2 separate regions of the Homo sapiens genome follow, and region 2 is linked to region 1. The links are contacts of gene promoters, found by promoter capture Hi-C in human tissues and cell types (Jung and others, 2019). All regions are on one chromosome and are shown on one strand. Each heading gives the region's core, a stretch centred on a gene start or on the middle of the fragment in contact. The rest is flanking DNA. Distances are from core to core; before and after follow the strand shown.

What was found. Contacts are between HindIII fragments. The study calls those that stand out against the background at their distance.
Region 2: a contact is called between a fragment that was not itself captured here and the fragment with the promoter of EPO in region 1, in 2 of the 25 tissues and cell types used here (mesenchymal stem cells and neural progenitor cells).

The regions. Positions count from the first base shown.
Region 1 is chr7:100,718,582-100,722,045 of GRCh38, forward strand. EPO (erythropoietin) reads left to right here and starts at 1,887. Exons shown (of 5, transcript NM_000799.4): 1 at 1,887-2,412; 2 at 2,977-3,122; 3 at 3,381-3,464. The coding sequence starts at 2,400. The HindIII fragment of the contact is 31,866 bases long and covers 1-3,464 here.
Region 2 is chr7:100,839,925-100,843,820 of GRCh38, forward strand. The region is part of intron 1 of SLC12A9-AS1 (SLC12A9 antisense RNA 1); the gene reads right to left. It also overlaps a transcript of SLC12A9 not described here. Among named protein-coding and RNA genes, the nearest start is that of SLC12A9-AS1, 11 kb to the right of the region's middle. The HindIII fragment of the contact is 3,742 bases long and covers 1-3,619 here.

The sequences.
Region 1 (3,464 bases), core at 637-3,136:
TCTGTAACCAGCTTTTGTTGCAATTGTTACTGCTGATTAGTATCTTGCTAATCATAGGTTATGGAAAGATTGTGTTTCTGTTTTAAGGCTCTGTTAGAAATTACTGATGCACACACTATATTGTAAATTCTTATCTCTGTATACTGTACTTCTGCATACAAATGTACTGTACTTCTACATATAAATGTTATGTTAAAGAATTAATTCATCCCCATGTGACCATCTCACCTCATAATCAAATGACCCTAAATCCCTCACTAACCTACCCCCGCCCTCACTAAACTTAATAATAAATGATGGTACATCTGGTGCATTGTTGACACCACGGGACCAGAAGGCGGTGACCCCCCGGACCAGCTTTCACTATCTTGTGTGTGTCTATTATTTCTCAACCTGCTGATCCGCCTGGGAACAAAGAGAGAGCCCTGTTGCATTGCGGGCTGCTGGCCAGATCCCGCAATACTCACCTGACTCTCCATTCACTTTGCTGAATCGACAATCCCCCACCCACCTCATACCTCTTCCCATTGATGTCCTACCCCCCTTCAAGGCTGAGGTCATTGTCACCTCCTCCCTCAAATCTTTCTTGATTTCTCCCGGCTAACTCTTACAGCTCAGATCTACACATTCCAGTCTTTTTTTGTTTTTGAGACAGGCTCTCACTCTGTCGCCCAGGCTGCAGTGCAGTGGCACGATCATGGCTCACTACGGCCTCGAACTCCTGGGCTCAGGTGATCCTCCTGCCTTAGCCTCCTGCATATTTGGGACTACAGGCGTGAGCCACCACACCTGACTAATTATTTTTTATTTATTTATTTATTTTAGAGACAAGGTCTTGCCATGTTGTCCGGGCTGGTCTCGAACTCCTGGGCTCAAAGGATCTTCCTGCCTTGGTCTCCCAAAGTGCTGGGATTATAGGTGTCAGCTGCGGCGCCTGGACCTTTCCTGTCTTTTATGAAACCTGAATGGGATAGGCTGGTAGTTTCACCACACCCATTTGACAGATGAGGACATTGAGGGCTCAAGGACGAGGCCACTTTCTAAGGTGTGAGAGACCAGCTAGTCTTGGTCTCCTGCTCTGGGAATCTCACTCCTCTGGCTCAGGGTTTCCAGAAGCCATAAAACCTTAGCTGTAAATCCCAGCCCCCATCACTCTTGGTGTTAGCTGTATTTCAGTGTTCTTAAGAACTCAGCAATGCAGCCTAGCTAACCTACACCACAGGTCAAATAAACAGATGTCAAGGTGCATGTGTGTCCTGCACAATGGACTGTGTGCTCTGTGCACTAAAAGTTAAGTGTCTGGGGTGGGGGCTGGGTGCGGTGGCTCACGCCTGCAATCCCAGCACTTTGAGAGGCCGAGGAGGGTGGATCACCTGAGGTCAGGAGTTCAAGACCGGTATGGGCAATATGGCAACACCCCATCTCTACTAAAAATACAAAACATAGCCGGGTGTAAAGGTGTGCCTGTAGTCCCAGCTGCTCCAGAGGCTGAAGCAGGAGAATTGCTTGAACCCAGGAGGCAGAGGTTGTAGTGAACGGGAGATGGCACCACTGCACTGCCTGGGCAACATAGGGAGGCTACATCTCCAGAAAAAAAAAAAAAAGTTAAGTGTCTGGGTTTGCAGAGTACTAGACGGTGAGGAGTGAGGTGGGGAGGAAGAACCCCAAATTTCTTGCCCTATTTGCCCCCATCAAATTCCTCAACATGGTCAACATTGTTTCTAGAACATGTCCTGGGATTGTGGGAAGGGAGACCACTCATTTGCCCCTCCCTAAAGCTTCTGGGCTTCCAGACCCAGCTACTTTGCGGAACTCAGCAACCCAGGCATCTCTGAGTCTCCGCCCAAGACCGGGATGCCCCCCAGGGGAGGTGTCCGGGAGCCCAGCCTTTCCCAGATAGCACGCTCCGCCAGTCCCAAGGGTGCGCAACCGGCTGCACTCCCCTCCCGCGACCCAGGGCCCGGGAGCAGCCCCCATGACCCACACGCACGTCTGCAGCAGCCCCGCTCACGCCCCGGCGAGCCTCAACCCAGGCGTCCTGCCCCTGCTCTGACCCCGGGTGGCCCCTACCCCTGGCGACCCCTCACGCACACAGCCTCTCCCCCACCCCCACCCGCGCACGCACACATGCAGATAACAGCCCCGACCCCCGGCCAGAGCCGCAGAGTCCCTGGGCCACCCCGGCCGCTCGCTGCGCTGCGCCGCACCGCGCTGTCCTCCCGGAGCCGGACCGGGGCCACCGCGCCCGCTCTGCTCCGACACCGCGCCCCCTGGACAGCCGCCCTCTCCTCCAGGCCCGTGGGGCTGGCCCTGCACCGCCGAGCTTCCCGGGATGAGGGCCCCCGGTGTGGTCACCCGGCGCGCCCCAGGTCGCTGAGGGACCCCGGCCAGGCGCGGAGATGGGGGTGCACGGTGAGTACTCGCGGGCTGGGCGCTCCCGCCCGCCCGGGTCCCTGTTTGAGCGGGGATTTAGCGCCCCGGCTATTGGCCAGGAGGTGGCTGGGTTCAAGGACCGGCGACTTGTCAAGGACCCCGGAAGGGGGAGGGGGGTGGGGCAGCCTCCACGTGCCAGCGGGGACTTGGGGGAGTCCTTGGGGATGGCAAAAACCTGACCTGTGAAGGGGACACAGTTTGGGGGTTGAGGGGAAGAAGGTTTGGGGGTTCTGCTGTGCCAGTGGAGAGGAAGCTGATAAGCTGATAACCTGGGCGCTGGAGCCACCACTTATCTGCCAGAGGGGAAGCCTCTGTCACACCAGGATTGAAGTTTGGCCGGAGAAGTGGATGCTGGTAGCTGGGGGTGGGGTGTGCACACGGCAGCAGGATTGAATGAAGGCCAGGGAGGCAGCACCTGAGTGCTTGCATGGTTGGGGACAGGAAGGACGAGCTGGGGCAGAGACGTGGGGATGAAGGAAGCTGTCCTTCCACAGCCACCCTTCTCCCTCCCCGCCTGACTCTCAGCCTGGCTATCTGTTCTAGAATGTCCTGCCTGGCTGTGGCTTCTCCTGTCCCTGCTGTCGCTCCCTCTGGGCCTCCCAGTCCTGGGCGCCCCACCACGCCTCATCTGTGACAGCCGAGTCCTGGAGAGGTACCTCTTGGAGGCCAAGGAGGCCGAGAATATCACGGTGAGACCCCTTCCCCAGCACATTCCACAGAACTCACGCTCAGGGCTTCAGGGAACTCCTCCCAGATCCAGGAACCTGGCACTTGGTTTGGGGTGGAGTTGGGAAGCTAGACACTGCCCCCCTACATAAGAATAAGTCTGGTGGCCCCAAACCATACCTGGAAACTAGGCAAGGAGCAAAGCCAGCAGATCCTACGGCCTGTGGGCCAGGGCCAGAGCCTTCAGGGACCCTTGACTCCCCGGGCTGTGTGCATTTCAGACGGGCTGTGCTGAACACTGCAGCTTGAATGAGAATATCACTGTCCCAGACACCAAAGTTAATTTCTATGCCTGGAAGAGGATG
Region 2 (3,896 bases), core at 499-2,998, 120 kb after region 1:
CCCCACCAGAGCGAGACTCCGTCTCAAAAAAAAAAAAAAAAGAAACTTGCCCACTGCATTTAAGTGGAAGCGTGGCCTGATCACCCATGGTGTGCCTGTACCGGCACTTTAGTTTTTGTTTTTGACTTGACTTAGATTGCTTAATACTCTGGTTTTGGTTTTGACCTAACTTAGATTTCTAGATACTCTGATTTTAGTTTTGATTTTAGTTTGGTGCAAACTGCGAAAGTGTGTGTGTGCCCTTTTTACCTGTTCTTTGTTTTGTGGTGTGCGTGTGGTGTGAGTGTGGTGTTTTGTGTCGAAGAAGCATAGGTCAGGCACAAATAAGCCCACCCTGCTAGGAACTATGTTGAAAAATTTCAAAAAAGAATTTAAAGGAGACTATAGAGTACTATGACACGAGGAAAACTTAAAACTTTGTGTAAGATAGACTGGCCAGCATTAGAGGTAGGTTGGCCATTAGAAAAAAGCCTGGACAGGTCCCTTGTTTCAAAGGTATGGCACAAAGTAACCTGTAAGCCAGGGAACCCAGACCAGTTCCCGTACATAGACACTTGGTTACAGCTAGTTTTAGACCCCCCGCCCCCAACACACAGCGGTTGAGAACAGCAGCATAAGTGGCTGGCAGAGGCAAAGAAAGACCAGCAGAAAGAGAGAAAGGAAAGAGACAGAGAGGAAGAGACAGAGAGGAAAAGACAGACAGAGAGGGAGTCAAGGAGAGAGAGAAAGACAGAGAGAAAGAAATGCAGAGAGAGAGAAGAGACAGAGGCAAAAAGAAAGTCAAAGAGAGACAAAGTCAAAGAAAGAAAGAAAGAGAGATATACAAGCAGTTAAGAAAAAAAAAAGGTGTACCCTATTCCTTTAAAAGCCAAGGTAAATTTAAAACCTATAATTGATAATTGAAGGTATTCTCCGTAACCCTGTAACACTCCAATACCACTTTGTTGTCAGTGTAAACAAAGCCGTATCCGAAAGCACTGAGGCCTTCCTATCAAAAATCCTTAACCCAGTGACCCGCGGATGGCCCAAATGCATTCAGTCTGTAGCGGCAACTGCTTTGCTAACAACAAAAAAAAAGTAAAAAAAAAAAACTTTTAGAGGAAACCTCATTGTGAGCACACCTCACCAGTTCAGAAGTATCCTAAGGAAAAAAGAATTTTTTTTCCTTAGGGGGTGGAATTTATATAAAAAGAGTATTATATAGTAAATTGTTGTCCTGAAATAAATTAACTGGTTTAAAGAAAGAAATATTTGTAATAAGTCAAAAAGTTGAAGAATATCGAAGAATTGTCTGCGAAAACCATGAAAGAAAAAAAGTTATAAAAAAGAATTTATGCAAAAATGTAGTATAATTTAAAAGTAACTAGGCCTCCTGAATGTAAAACTATTTAAAAAAAAAAACAAACCAGTTTATGTGCAAGGTGTATAAGAAAAGTAAAATATACCTTTGGTAAGGAGGCATAAGAATGTACATTTTTACCTATGTTAAAAAGTTAAAACAAATTATTGTTTTAAAAGTTTAAGCAAGTTTTAAAATGTTAATTGTAAAGAAAATTCTGTATGTAAACATATTAGCTAAAGTTAAAGAAGTATCATCCAGTTTTTCTGTGAACTGGACATTAAAGTAAAAGCATAACAGGTTTTTCTTAAAGCACCAACCTGCTCTTTAGCAAAAATTATAAAAAGTTAAAAAGAGTCTATAAAATCTTACCTTATGGTCAAACATTAAAAATTAGATAAATATGTCTATAAAGTTTTATTAAAATTAGGTTTAACATTCATAACACACGAATATAAAGATAAAATTTAGCTTATCTGGTATGAAAATCATACGAGAAGCATTGTTAAATGTAAAAAAAATTTGGCTTTCTTTAGTTTAAAAACTAATAAAAATAGGTGCTAAAGGAAATTTCTCAGTAAAAAGGCACTAAGGACTATAAAGTCCACGGCCAAGGTCCCCACATTTAAAACAAAAAGACATTTTCTTAAAAATCATATACTTGGTTTACCTTCCACTTTCCTTTCTCTCAAAAACTAAAAGTCTTTTAGCACATGTACCACCCCTAGAATTTCCGGTAAACCAGCACCAGCCTGAAGATCATATTCTCATCAAACTGTGGAAGAAAAACTCAAGCCAGCCTGGGAAGGACCCTGCCTTGTGCTGCTAACCACCAAGACTGCTGTTCGTACAGAAAAAAAAAAAAAGAATGGACTCATCACATCCGAGTCAAGAAAGTGCCACCCCCTCCAGAGTTGTAGGCCATAGTCCCAAAGGAAAACCCTATCAAACTAAAGCTAAGAAAAACTTAACTCTTTTCATCTATTCTATTACTCTTTCTTCTTTCCTCATTCTATTGCTGACCATCTAGTTATTAACATAACCAAGTCAATTTCTCCTCAAACTATTGCATTTAATGATTGCTTTGTTATACCCTGTGAGGACTTGCCAAGTCAAAGACAGCTCTCTACTTCAGAAAAGCACTTCTGTCTCTCCTGACTCTCCTCAGACTGGGCATTAGTAAACTAGGACCATTTAATCCAGGGAGATTTCGATAAAGACCCCAGTGCCAACGAAGAGTCTTGCCCCCGACGTAGAGCTTTCATGCCATAGTTGGTCCAATGTTCTGTGGACCATTAAAGAGCAAAGATGGACTGCCCCAACCGGTTTTTATAATTTCCTAAAATCATACATTAATTTTACTAGAGGATCATAGAAGTTAAAGACTTAAAACAAATTTTAGCAATTAAGACAGGATACCAACATGCAAATGCCTAGTTAAAATGGATCAAATATTCCATCTGCACATTAAACAAAAGCAATTGTTATGCTTGTGCACATGGCAGGCCAGAGGCCCAGACTGTCCCCCTTCCACTAAGGTGGTCCTCCAGTCGACCAGGTGTAGGTTGCATGGTAGCTCTTTTCCAGGATTCTACAGCCTGGAGTAATAAGTCATGCCAAGCTCTCTCTGCTGTATCCCTAAGTCTGGCACCCTGCGGGTCAGCCCCTGAGGGCCATCCAGCTTCCGTCTCCCAACACTAAGTTCACTTCGTATCTCTCACTACAGGGAGGAAACTTAGCATTCCTTGGAGACCTGAAGGGATGCGATGAGCTTAAGAATTTTCAAGAGCTTATTAATCAGTCAGCCCTTGTTCATCCCTGAGCGGATGTGTGGTGGTATTTTGGTGGACCTTTACTAGGCACTCTGCCGAATAACTGGAGTGGCACTTGTACTTTAGTCCAATTGGCTATCCCTTTCACCCTGGCATTTCATCAACCAGAGGGAGAAAAAATAAGACATTGTAAAGCGAGAGAAGCCCCTTATGGGTCTTTTGACTCTCATGTCTATTTAGACGCAATTGGAGTCCCATGAGGAATACCAGATCAATTTAAAGCTTGAAATCAAATAGCTGCAGGATTTGAGTCAATATTTTGGTGAGTGACAGTTAATAAAAATGTAGATTAGATAAACTACATCTATTACAACCAACAGCAATGAGCTTTTCATGAGTTAAAAGAAAAACTCATGTCGGCCCCAGCCCTGAGGCTACCTGAACCCTTTACACCCTACGTGTCAGAAAGAGAAAAAAAGGCAGTTAGAGTTTTAACCCAGACTGTAGGGCCCTGGGCAAGGCCAGTGGCCTATCTCTCAAAACAACTAGACAAGGTTTCCAAAGGCTGGCCCCCAGGTTTAAGGGCCCTAGCAGCAATGGCCCTGTTAGCACAAGAAGCAGATAAACTAACCCTTAGGCAAAACCTGAATATAAAGTCCCCCCATGCTGTGGTAACTTGAATGACTACCAAAGGACCTCATTGGTTACAAATGCTAGATTAACCAAGTACCAAAGCTTGCTATGTGAAAATCCCCACATAACCATTGAAGTTTGCAACACCCTAA